3 separate regions of the Homo sapiens genome follow, and regions 2 and 3 are each linked to region 1. Evidence: promoter capture Hi-C in 16 types of primary human blood cells and fetal thymus (Javierre and others, 2016). All regions are on one chromosome and are shown on one strand. Each heading gives the region's core, a stretch centred on a gene start or on the middle of the fragment in contact. The rest is flanking DNA. Distances are from core to core; before and after follow the strand shown.

What was found. Contacts are between HindIII fragments. The CHiCAGO score rates a contact against its expected background, and 5 or more counts as called.
Region 2: a contact is called between a fragment that was not itself captured here and the fragment with the promoter of CLEC12A-AS1 in region 1, in 9 of 17 cell types (activated CD4 T cells, neutrophils, naive B cells and 6 more). The highest score is 7.0, in activated CD4 T cells.
Region 3: a fragment that was not itself captured here is called in contact with the fragment with the promoter of CLEC12A-AS1 in region 1 in 1 of 17 cell types (neutrophils); the score reaches 5.5 in neutrophils.

Annotation. Positions count from the first base shown.
Region 1 is chr12:9,950,113-9,954,596 of GRCh38, reverse strand. CLEC12A-AS1 (CLEC12A antisense RNA 1) reads left to right here and starts at 1,260. Exons shown (of 3, transcript NR_135047.1): 1 at 1,260-2,047; 2 at 2,518-3,695; 3 at 4,470-4,484. It overlaps LOC124902874 (a long non-coding RNA gene), which reads right to left and starts at 2,940. Exons shown (of 2, transcript XR_007063207.1): 1 at 1,560-2,940. It also overlaps a transcript of CLEC12A not described here. The HindIII fragment of the contact is 17,088 bases long and covers 1-4,135 here.
Region 2 is chr12:9,808,249-9,812,732 of GRCh38, reverse strand. It overlaps a transcript of KLRF1 not described here. Among named protein-coding and RNA genes, the nearest start is that of KLRF1, 17 kb to the left of the region's middle. The HindIII fragment of the contact is 590 bases long and covers 2,045-2,634 here.
Region 3 is chr12:10,087,047-10,091,530 of GRCh38, reverse strand. It overlaps CLEC1A (C-type lectin domain family 1 member A), which reads left to right. Exons shown (of 6, transcript NM_016511.4): 2 at 2,309-2,407. Among named protein-coding and RNA genes, the nearest start is that of CLEC1A, 9.7 kb to the left of the region's middle. The HindIII fragment of the contact is 2,308 bases long and covers 658-2,965 here.

The DNA of each region.
Region 1 (4,484 bases), core at 11-2,510:
TCACATGGTTGAACTTTATTTGTTCTGATAGGTAATCCAATAAAGGTTGTGAAACAAAATTTTGAATAAAGCAGTTTCCATGATAGTTTGATTATTTTTTTTTTTGAGACAGGATCTCCGTCACCCAGGCTGGAAGTGCAGTGGTGTGATCAAGGCTCACTGCAGCCTCAACCTCCCAGGCTCAGGTAATCCTCCCACCTCAGCCTCCTGAGTAGCTGGGACTACAGGTATGCACCATTACACCCAGCTAATATTTGTATTTTTTGTAGAGACAGGGTTTCACCATGTTGCCCAGGCTGGTCTCGAACTCCTGGGCTCAAGTATCTGCCCACCTCAGTTTCTTGCGCCCAGCTGACAGTTTGATTTTTTTTTTTTTTTTTTTTTTTTTTTTATTGATAATTCTTGGGTGTTTCTCACAGAGGGGATTTGGCAGGGTCATGGGACAATAGTGGAGGGAAGGTCAGCAGATAAACAAGTGAACAAAGGTCTCTGGTTTTCCTAGGCAGAGGACCCTGCGGCCTTCCGCAGTGTTTGTGTCCCTGATTACTTGAGATTAGGGATTGGTGATGACTCTTAACGAGCATGCTGCCTTCAAGCATCTGTTTAACAAAGCACATCTTGCACCGCCCTTAATCCATTTAACCCTGAGTGGACACAGCACATGTTTCAGAGAGCACAGGGTTGGGGGTAAGGTCACAGATCAACAGGATCCCAAGGCAGAAGAATCTTTCTTAGTGCAGAACAAAATGAAAAGTCTCCCATGTCTACTTCTTTCTACACAGACACGGCAACCATCCCATTTCTCAATCTTTTCCCCACCTTTCCCGCCTTTCTATTCCACAAAGCCGCCATTGTCATCCTGGCCCGTTCTCAATGAGCTGCTGGGCACACCTCCCAGACGGGGTGGTGGCCGGGCAGAGGGGCTCCTCACTTCCCAGTAGGGGCGGCCGGGCAGAGGCGCCCCTCACCTCCCGGACGGGGCGGCTGGCCGGGCAGGGGGCTGACCCCCCCACCTCCCTCCCGGACGGGGCGGCTGGCCAGGCAGAGGGGCTCCTCACTTCCCAGTAGGGGGCGGCCGGGCAGAGGCGCCCCTCACCTCCCGGACGGGGCGGCTGGCTGGGCGGGGGGGCTGACCCCCCCCACCTCCCTCCCGGACGGGGCGGCTGGCCAGGCGGGGGGCTGACCCCCCCACCTCCCTCCCGGACGGGGCGGCTGGCCAGGCGGGGGGCTGACCCCCCCACCTCCCTCCCGGACGGGGCAGCTGGCTGGGCGGGGGGGCTGACCCCCCATCTCCGTCCCAGACGGGGTGGCTGGCCGGGCTGAGGGGCTCCTCACTTCCCAGTAGGGGGGGGCGGGCAGAGGCGCCCCTCACCTCCTGGACGGGGCGGCTGGCCGGGCAGGGGGCTGACCCCCCCACCTCCCTCCCGGACGGCATGGCTGGCCAGGCGGGGGGCTGACCCCCCACCTCCCTCCCGGATGGGGCGGCTGGCCGGGCGGAGGGCTAACCCCCCCCACCTCCCTCCCGGACGGGGTGGCTGCTGGGCGGAGACGCTCCTCACTTCCCAGATGGGGTGGCTGCCGGGCGGAGAGGCTCCTCACTTCTCAGACGGGGCGGCTGCCGGGCGGAGGGGCTCCTCACTTCTCAGACGGGGTGGTTGCCAGGCAGAGGGTCTCCTCACTTCTCAGACGGGGCGGCCGGGCAGAGACGCTCCTCACCTCCCAGACGGGGTCTCGGCCGGGCAGAGGCGCTCCTCACATCCCAGATGGGGCGGCGGGGCAGAGGCGCTCCCCACATCTCAGACGATGGGCGGCCGGGCAGAGACGCTCCTCACTTCCTAGATGTGATGGCGGCTGGGAAGAGGCGCTCCTCACTTCCTAGATGGGATGGCGGCCGGGCGGAGACGCTCCTCACTTTCCAGACTGGGCAGCCAGGCAGAGGGGCTCCTCACATCCCAGACGATGGGTGGCCAGGCGGAGACACTCCTCACTTCCCAGACGGGGTGGCGGCCGGGCAGAGGCTGCAATCTCGGCACTTTGGGAGGCCAAGGCAGGTTGCTGGGAGGTGTAGGTTGTAGTGAGCCGAGATCACGCCACTGCACTCCAGCCTGGGCACCATTGAGCACTGAGTGAACGAGACTCCGTCTGCAATCCCGGCACCTCGGGAGGCCAAGGCTGGCGGATCACTCGCGGTTAGGGGCTGGAGACCGGCCCGGCCAACACAGCGAAACCCCGTCTCCACCAAAACCAGTCAGGCGTGGTGGTGCGTGCCTGCAATCGCAGGCACTCGGCAGGCTGAGGCAGGAGAATCAGGCAGGGAGGTTGCAGTGAGCCGAGATGGCAGCAGTACAGTCCAGCTTCGGCTCCACATGAGAGGGAGACCGTGGGGAGAGGGAGAGGGAGACGGAGAGGGAGAGGGAGAGGGAGACGGAGAGGGAGAGGGAGAGGGAGACGGAGAGGGAGAGGGAGAGGGAGAGGGAGAGCGCTCACATCCTGTTTTTTTTTTTTTCCTTGAGACAGGGTCTGACAGTTTGATTTTTAAAGGCCAAATCTCTCCAGACTCCAAAGAACTCTGTAGCCAAACAGCAGCACATACTAATCAGGCCTGCCTGTCCTTAGAGCAGCAGCATAGAAGCCTGGAGACATGGACTTCCATCCCATATTCACATTCAACAGCAAAATAAATCCAAATATAAGGCAGTGCTACAATTCAAAGACTGTCTGAGATCAGATGAGATTGGGCATGTTCAGCGTGATACGGGTAGAGATGTTCCCTCACTCCACTGGCCCACAGCCACATGCAGACCAACCCTGAAGAATACACCCAAGCGGTCTGCACTCAGATCAAACCCTGATCTCCCACAACTACATCAACACACAAACAACCACCAGAATACAATCTAACTGCTGCAACAATAAGCAAGTCCCAAGAGAGTCCAAACTGAAACAGTTGAGTTGCTTTCTCCCTGTTTGTTGGGCTAGTTCAATCTGCAAATGGAGATTCCTTCGGAATTTCTCAAATTGAGAAAAGCAGATCCTGCTGTCTGGACCCACAAATGACACTCACTTATCCAGACACATACTCAATTACTAACAAGCCCCAAGAGTGTCTGAACTGGAACAGTCAGGGTGCTTCCTCTCTCCGTCAGTTGGCCTTGCTGAACTTGCCAATGGAAATTCCTTCAGAATTTCTCAAATTGAGAGGAGCCATTCCCACTGTCGGTATCCACAAAAGACACTCACCTATCCACATGCAGAAGTCAAATTTGAAAGGCTGTTCTTCCTAGGCAATCAGAAATGTGGTTGGGGCTGGCAGCAGCAATGCTAAATAGAAAGACTAAAACCCACATCCTGCCTAAAACACATAGGCTGCTGCTTAGGGTTGCGGAAATTCTCCCAACTGGTGACAGCCAAGCCAAGAGCAATGTCTTCCTGATGAGGGAACCAAAATCTGTTACTGAAATGCCAGAGGTTCAGCCTAGGTCCCGTTACTCATTGCACAGAATGCCAATCACTGAGGCAAGTATTTCCAGGGGAGATGACTTTATTCAGTTGCTGCAGCTGAGAAGAACTGCAGATCAGTCTCAAATTCATCTCCCCAAGTGACTGAAATTGGGGGTTTACATAGCAGAGGAGGGATGTAGCTACGTGCAGGAAATAATGTAGCTATGTGTGGGAAAACAGAATTTGAATTTCAGGTAAAAATGACTTATTTTTAATGTAAGTATTGCTCATCAATATTTGTATTTGCTGTCTCTGCAATTATCTGTGGTCGATTGAAATTCAAATTTAACTGGAAATCTTGTGTCTTAATTTGTTAATATGGCCAGCATATCCATAAGCCCATTGGAGTGGATTGGCTGAAAAAGATGAAGACAAATTTGTACAGGCAGCACACATTCTTTTAATGAGAAGAGTGACTTAGTCTCACCACCCACCCTAAAGTACACTCTCCCCACTCTTCTACATACCTTGTCAGTCAACCTATTCACCACCCAATCCCATGTTTTTCACAGCATTTATCAAGTATTTCGGTGCCCGGTTAATATTTTCCAGATGGTTGAGAGGCATCAGGATATTCATTATGTTTCTTTTATGGACTAATTGCCTGCTACTCTAAGTCAAGTCACAGAAAGCTTATGGACTGAAGCAAGATCGCAGCTACTAAGGTTTCTGGAAAGTAACTTTGCTAGTAAAAGAAGCTTCATAATGCCTTCGATGGTTATTTATGTTGTAGCTTGTGTCAGAATGTCCTTCCTTTTTAAGGCTGAATAATATTCCATTGTATGTATATATGACATATTTTTATTCCACCCATTGATGGACTCTAGGGTTGCTGTAACCTGTTGTTAGCACAAAGTTCTAAATTCAGACTGCCGTAACAACAATAACAAAAAAACTGAAATATATGCACTTATACACCAAAATGCTAGGTCTAGTTGTCACTTTCTCTGCCTCTTTAAATTTTTCAGGGCAACAGGAGATTT
Region 2 (4,484 bases), core at 1,090-3,589, 140 kb after region 1:
CTGTATTTCAGGTGATAAAATATACCCCAAGGAACATGAAACAGACTCCCTGTGGGTAAAATAACAGAAACAGACAAACAAATGAGAAACCAGAATCTGATAGATAGCAGGATGAGGGACTAGTCAGGTATCCCAGGGTTATTAATTGCCATAAGTTTTCCTTCCCATAATTAAACAGGAAGGAAATACTGAAAAGCATTGCCAAAACAACCATAGCTGGGAAATTTCCAAAATATCTTGACAGATTGCCTGATGCCAGCGGACAACCTTCTCCCCAGCCTTGCTGTCCTGCCATAAGTCAGACTGTCCTACCATAACTCAGATTGGAAAAAGAACCCAATCTTTTTTTTTTTTTTTTTTTTTTTCCTGAGACGGCGTCTCGCTCTGTCGCCCAGGCTGGAGTGCAGTGGTGCAATCTGGGCTCACTGCAAGCTCTGACTCCCGGATTCACACCATTCTCCTGCCTCAGCCTCCCGAGTAGCTGGGACTACAGGCGCCCGCCACCACGTCTGGCTAATTTTATGTATTTTTAGTAGAGACGGGGTTTCACCATGTTAGCCAGGATTGTCGTGATCTCCTGACCTCATGATCCGCCCGCCTCGGCCTCCCAACGTGCTGGGATTACAGGCGTGAGCCACCGCGCCCGGCCAGACCCAATCTTATAAACATTCTTTATTGATGAATGGCCACAGACCTTAAACCAGTTACAGACAGCTTGTGGAGATTATGTACAAACTATTTTTGTACGCTATAGTTCACCTTTTGAGGTAAAGAGCCAAATTCCACCCGATTTAATGTTAAAACACCATCCCAAAGTGACCGTGGGGTGCATGTTACATCTGCTTACCCAATGCACTAGTGCTTGACTTCCTTCATGAATATTCATAAGTATTCACAGAATTTTCCCAACCCTGCTCAGTATGTATGTAAAACTGACTGTATAAGACATGTATACCAGCCCCCTCTCACTTCTTCAGAGAGTGAACTTTCGGATTTTCCCGAAAGCTGCATTTCCCTAATTCTAGGGTTATTTTTCCCTCTGAAAATAAAGTCTTCTCCTTTCCTTCCTTTGTGGATCTCATGGTCTTTTGATAATGAAGATAATAAAAGATCCAATTCCGCCTAATATCTTAAGTCCAACTTTTATCTAATTTAACACTTTTCCTCTCTCTCAGCTTGGATTGGATCTGCTTAGTTTGGGACCATTAAGGGGGCAAGTGAGTATAACGGGCTCTGCATGAGCTTCTTCCCTCTCTAGTATCTCTTTCCATTCCCCAACCCTGATCCCCAGAATGAGTGAAGGTGAAACAAAGGGAATAGAAATAAACACGGAATAAAGATGTTACCAGCCTGGACAGTTTTAATCTGTATGCTGACACTCCAAATGTTTTCTCTCTTTTTTTTTTTTTTTTTGGACTACTTCTATGGGTTTTTCAGAAATTCTGCTCCTGGGGTACTCTGCAGTTGTCTGATGTGTGATGTCTCCTTTGGCAATCCTGCTTGCAAATCACTGTACCTCACCCCTCACAACTCCCCAGGTACCTTTTTTTTTTTTGCTTTCTACTCTATACTTCCAGCTTCTTTTCATTGAGGCTGACTTGCCTGTGGTAAGAAGCAGTCTTAGGTGAATTTTATTTTAGGATGGTTCCCAAATGGCTGCTTTGTATGAGATCTTCATCCGGCCCACAGGAAACACTCCCTTCAGCCTCACCATTGCTGGAAGTGTGGCTTAATCTACACATCTGCTTTTACTCTGTGGTTATGTGTAGTTCTAACAAACTCACATACTGAAAGTGTTCACCTCTGCAACCTCCAACTCCCAGAGGACACTTGCCAATATATGACAGAATCCAAACTTGGCTTAAGGTAAAAGAGAAGTTCTTTTGCTTATTGACACAGAAAGATATTGGGAAATGGGAAGTACACTGGCAAGTCACTTCATAAAAAAAATTCTCACTTCCTAATCTCTGAACACTCATAAACTCTTAATGTGCTCTGAAAGTAGATGATAGATCGAAATTTGAAATAAACACTTTTGCAAGCTTGTTAGCATGTCCTATATAGGAGGTCTAGCACCTATAGAATTGTTCTTGACATTTGTGCCCTCAGATAAAAGTAAACAGCAGGAATGACCACATTTTAATATCCTACTAGTCATTCAATATTTATGAATTATTTTCTGAGGACTTATTACATGTCAGACACTGTTTGGGGAGTCTATTTTAGACTTCAAACATCTTTTAAAAACAAACATTTCATTAAACTATAGGTGAAAATTTAAGCATATAGTCATTAAGTTTGTGAATCAGACCTATCTTGGAGAGGAATTTAATTTGTTTAAATTTATCAAAGGACACACAAAAGATAAGCCCTAGTTATTCTAACCACTTATTAACACAGCTACCTGCGATTTCTGGGAGCTTAACTTCCGTTCAGGCTCAGAAACTCTAATTTTGGGAATATACTTGGACCACATTGTTAATTTGGGAGGATTCAGATAAAGTATGAGAAATGCATTCACATTTGACTATGAGAACATCAAGTTATATTGTATAATACCAAAAATAATGGTCCCTTGAATATATCCAGGATGACCTACAAACAGAATTGTTCCTAGATAAAAACCCTCAAGCTTGTAGAAAATCTATGTTGACACTCACTATTCAGATGTTGTCATTCACAACTCTGAGTTTCAGTGATTTAATGATGAAATTTAGGACTGAGAAGCTTGTTTCTTGCAGATTTATCAACCTTGCTAATTGATCTTTATGTCATTCTCCTTTTGTATACTTCAGGTAAATAAATAAATATTTGATTTATTCATGGGGTGATTTTGTTTGATACATTAATCCATAGGCACAGTCAATATTTTCAAAACAGTAGTTTTACATCAAATAAAGCAGCATTAAAAAAAACAGATTTATCAATAGAATAACAACTTTTGAAAGTGGAACTTATTTTTTTAAATCAATTTTCTTAACCTAAGTTTAAATCTAAGTAACCCGCTTTTTCCAACAATAATAACAATTTATCTTTGAATACTACACAAAATCTCATGACATAATCAAAATTAACTGGGGTATATGGATGCTTCTTTCAAGAATTGGTATCAATTCTGCCTTCTGGAGCCAGTAAACTAAGCGTAACATCAATATGACAGCTGTTGGAACAATTTACGTTAACAAACTTATTCCCAGCAGCCCTTTTCCTGATTCTGGCTAAGTAGCTTTAGTTCCTGGAAATAATACTTAAGTTACGGTTTCAACTAATTCAAATCCCTGTTTTTTCTCATCTGTACTCTTAAAAGTAGGCATTTACATATGTGCATGTATGCAGAGGAAAACTAAGAGAAAGTTAAGATGGTTTGAAACAATCACATAAAAATTATTTCAAAGAATTGGGCCAGGAATGGAGGAAAAAAGTCCCACCCTTTCTTTTTAGATATATTTGTATTGATTTTACCTAAAATTCATTACTTCACACAATCTTATTTTGAGCTTGTTGGTCATTGAATTTCCCCTAGTGCTCTTGCATACATCTACAAATAAAGGCAATTCTTCCCATCTTGTTAACTTCTTCAGTTTAGATTTTAATACACTTAAAAAATTCATCTCGCTAAACTCTCAATTTTCTCCGAAATGCAGAATGTTTGGAGTTTATGATTCTATTACTCAGTGTATTAGATATCCAAGTTGTATGTCATCTATACATTGAATATATTAACCTAAGCATTTATAAAATGTGGAGTAAGAGAGAATGAAATGCAAAACATTCTGGCATATAGAAAATGATCTCTCTCCTAACTAATGGCACCTAACCTGAGGTAGCACTGCTTTCATGTAGATATTATAGCATTCTGTGGCATACATCTCAGTGAAAATCATATACATGATACATTCATTGTTTTCCAAAACCATTAATGTGATAAGTCTTTTAACACCAAGAATACGAGGTCATTCTAGCATGACTTGCCTGCTTACTCATATTACACATATGGATATTTACTAAGACTTAGCTAACTATATTTTTAATATTGCACTCTGCCAACTCTTGCCTAAAGCTCTTTGATTCAAACGTCTACCAAACCAAGGCTGCATGATTGCAGCATTCTGTGGTACATGGAGAAACTACTGTTAGCATTCACTCCTGCTTTTGGGGAGGATGCGGGTCTTTTTTGAGCCTACTGTTTTCTTACCATCCTGTCATTGATCTTTAAGCTAGTTAACTTTAAGTGAATATATTTTCTAACATATTAGGATATATAGATGATTACCATGAACCTAGTTACCTGTTATTACAACTAGGGCATAAGTTCTAATTATTTGAAATCACTGTTATTCTGAAAAAAAAATCAAAAAGCAAGTAAATTTGACTCAAAGAAGCAAGTGGAGTGAGATTTATTTTAGACCAATTATTTCTTCTTACTTTTACAAACACATTGGGGGAAAAGCATTAATCAGGAAGGAGCACAAAGGAATTTTCTA
Region 3 (4,484 bases), core at 562-3,061, 140 kb before region 1:
TAGATTTGTTCATGATATAATCTCACAAAAGTCAATGTATAGAAACCAACATGGCTGGGAGATGTATTTAGCTGAGTCTGTTTTCTGCTGACATAGATGTTGCTGAAAATCAATAGCCTACAAAAAAAACAAAAACAAAAACCTGTAAACTTAACTTTGGAGAACCCACTTATCTCTTTAAAACTTAAATAGTTTAAGTCATATTAATTTTTTATTATTTCATTTTTTGATTATTTAAGCTGTCAAAGATTTACTCAGCCCTTATGTCCCAGGCACTACTTTCAGTAGTGGAAATGGACTGGTGGACAAGATAGACAAGATCATTGTTGTAATGGAATGTTAAATGGAGAGAAAGGAGACAGACAAAAAGAAACAAAAGTCATGAAAAGATTACCTAGTACAGGGTGAGTGATCTGCTAGAGATGGACTTACGGACCTCTTCCAAGGATGTGCCATTGAAACTGAAATTAATGCAGAGGCAGAAGTAGGGCTGATACAAGGTGCTTAGGGTCAAGCTTGATCAGATCAAGGACTAAACGGGAGACCGTTGTGAGGAGTACATGTGAGTGAGGGGAAAATAGTTCAGAAAGGCATGAAAGAGCTAAGGAAGGTCTCAATAAGACTAATGCAGGATTTAATTTTAAGTGCAATAAAGCTTTTGAAGTTTTTAAGTAGGGAAGTAGCATAATAAAATTGCCATTTTTTTTAAAAAAAGGAGCAATCTGTGAAAAGTGATTTGTATTTTATTCTAAATGTAATGAAAGCTACTTATGAAGGAGATGATTGCTAAGAAATAAGATTCACATTTAAAAATGTATCAGTATGTCTTCTCCGAGACTTTAACTTATTTTGCCTACTAGATTGTAAGTTCCAGAGGATAGTAATTATACTGTCTATTTCTATATTCTTTACTAGTTATCATTCCCCATTTGGAAATAACGTTTCATATAAATCTCTACCTAGAATTGGCCGGGCGCGGTGGCTCATGCCTGTAATCCCAGCACTTTGGGAGGCGGGGTTAGAGGATCACTTGAGCTCAGGAGTTAGAGAACAGCCTGCAGCCTGGGCAACATGGTGAAACCTCATCTCCAACAAAAATATAGGAAAAAAAAATTAGCCAGGCGTGGTGGCACGTGCCTGTAGTTCCGGCTCCTCAGGAGCTGAGGTGGGAGGATTGCTTGAACCTTGGAGGCGGAGGTTGCAGTGAGCTGAGATCTCGCCACTGCACTCCAGCCTGGAAAATCTCTGTACCTAGAATGTATTATGTATAGGACCTTGCTAGAAGGAAAAGAATTTTCCTTTCAAAAAGCCCCTCCGATCTCTTTAATCTTTCTGTTTCAGAACGTGACTTGAATTCTCAGTGAAGTAGAACTAACGGGCTACAAAGAGATCACAGTTTGTTTGAGGGTTTCACTCTCTCTTTGTTTCATTTTTATCACAGTGCTAGATGCTACCTGCACCTGACTGAGACTCTTCCCTTCAGATATGTTAGGTCATTCAGATTCAGATAGGTGACCTCACTAGGTGAGGGGTCTACTCATGACTTACAGTAAAACCTCTGCAATTACTAGTCAAACTTATGGGAATGGAGGGCGAGGAAACCATGTTTGCCACAGTTTTAAAAATTATTTAACTGTTGCAAAAATAGTTTAGATTCATCTTTCTGAAATTGATTATCATGTTTCTTTATAATCTATTTTTGAAAAAATATAAATCAAATGAATGAATAAACAATATCCTTACAATAGCGGGACTTTCAATTAAGCAATTCCACAGAAAAACAGTAAAATTATTACTTCCCATTACTAACATGCAATTTGCCTTTTAGAAAAAGCATATACGGAACTTGGGGGAAGGGGGATGTTTTTCAAAAGTAACAACAAATTAATTTCATCTTTCCCCTGATTATGTAAAAAGTTGTCCCTTGGTAAGGTTCAGAGATTCTCAGGCTGTGTTTCAGACATTTTCGTGAGAGTCTTTCATAATTAGAATTTTGACAAGCAGAAGGTTGTACAAAGAACCACATAAAGATAATGGTAATGCATAGTGTGATTCAGTGCAAAGTAAGACTTGAGGGGTGGATACAAACGGGTGGGGCTTGTGAGAAAATCTAGCTGTGATAAGTGAGGCTTGCACTGAGCCTTATGATGATGTTTCTGAGGACAGAAAGCAGGTTATCCAGCCCCTGTTACCGTTGTCCAGCCTAATTTGTTCTTGTGCAGAATTAACTCCACTCCCTTACCTGTTATTGACTTAGATGCAAGAGGAAGAAAAAGCCAAACTCTGCTTTCTCTTCTGTTCCCTGCAGAGCACAGGGCTCCCTCTTCAACGTGGCGACCAGTGGCCCTGACCCTGCTGACTTTGTGCTTGGTGCTGCTGATAGGGCTGGCAGCCCTGGGGCTTTTGTGTAAGTCTGCGCTCTGACCTGGGGGAGGATCCTGGTTCCAAGGTTTGTCTAGGATGAGAAACACTTGTTATGGATTTGTTTTTTAAACTTTAATTCCTTAGCCTTTGGAAAATTCAGTGTATCTTTTTTTAAATGGCAACTATTTAAATAGTGAATAATGGAAGAAGAAGTAAAAAAAAAATCAGTTGCCAACTAGAATTAAACATTCTGTTTGAGATAAGAAGGGTTTTGTCTGTTTGTTTGTATGTCAATGTTTAAAAAAAATCATTTATTTTAAATAAATGCATGCTTCAGCCCTCTCCCATTCCACAAAAGACTAGGGTATCAGAGGTTTGGGCTCTGAGAATACAAGGTTCAGTGGGCTAGTGCAGAATATGCTACCCATAGAGCCACGGGTACCATCAATACAAGGAGAGTAGGTAAACTCCTTAATCACCATATTTTTTAAAGGCCAGGAAGTTATACAGTCACTTTACAAAAACTTGTGAAAATCAAATTGGAAAAAAGCATATCTAAAAATATTTAAATTTCAAACTAGTAAAAACAAGTTAAAAAGCTTAAAAAAGAAAGTGGATGAATTTGCCTCAGTAGGTGAAGACCCCACAGCAATGTTTCCTAAACAGCTGAATAACTGTTCTTTGAACAGTTCTTTTAACTGTTCTTTGAACAGTTCTTTTAACTGTTCTTTGAACAGTTATTCAAAGAAAAATGTTATATAGAAGAGCAGATTTTAATGTCAAAAATTGGGTTTTATAGGAATTTTAATACTTCTGTTTGTGTCTTATATTTCAAAATTAAAAATAACTTCTTGTTGCCCTTTTTGATCCCAAAAGTTTTGTTTCATTGTGATAGAACTATTGTTTTGCAATCACCATTATTCTTGGAAATATAGAGGAACTCTTATGATTCATGAGGGATTTCTATACTTAGATGTAGAGACCTGAATTTCAAATCTGAATGTTGAAAATTTCTAGTCAAATGATGTTAGGAATTTACTTGTTCTCAATGATCCTAATTGCAAACTGTAAAATCATGGAAAAAATAATAACACTATTTCAATAACTGAATAAGTAACAATATATGGTATATTGTCAATACTCAATATAATGATCAACATATAAACAGATTGGCGGTTTTATGTTGAGTAACATTTGAGAGTATACATAAAAATATTTATCAAGCAGTAAATATAGGTTAAGAATTTATTCCTGAAGTTAGGAACTAATATTATAACTCCACATTTCTATTTATTTATTTATAAATATACATAGATAAATTATTTAAATTATACATTTTTTTTAGGCCAGGAATGGTGGCTCATGCCTGTAATTCCAGCACTTTGGGAGGCTGAGGCGGGCGAATCGCTTGAGGTCAGGAGTTGGAGACCAGCCTGGCTAACATGGTGAAACCTTGTCTCTACTGAAAATACAAAACTTAGCCAGGCATGGTGGTGGGCATCTGTAATCCCAACTACTCAGGAGGCCAAGGCAGGAGAACCGCTTGAACCCAGGAGGCGGAGATTGCAGTGAGCCAAGATCACACCACTGCACTGCACTCCAGCCTAGGTGACAGAGTGAGACTCTGTCTAAAAAAAAAAAAAACAAATATATATATATATATATATATATATATATATATATATATATATATAACTTTGAGGTATGTCCTTTATATGCCAATTTTGCTGAATGTTTTAATCATAAAGGAATGCTGGATTTTGTCAAATGCTTTTTCTGCATCTATTGAGATGATCATAGGATTTTTGTTTTTAATTCTGTTTATGTAATGTGTCATATTTATTGACTTGTGTATGTTAAACCATCCCTGCATCCCTGGGATAAAACCCACTTTATCATGGGGTATTATCTTTTTGATGTGCTGTTGGATTCAGTTAGCTAGTCTTTTTTTTTTTTTTTTTTGAGATGGAGTCTTACACTGTCGCCCAGGCTGGAGTGCAGTGGCATGATCTCGGCTCACTGCAACCTTCGCCTCCCGGGTTCAAGGGATTTTCCTGCCTCAGCCTCCCGAGTAGCTGAGATTACAGGCACCCACTACCACACCTGGCTAATTTTGTGTT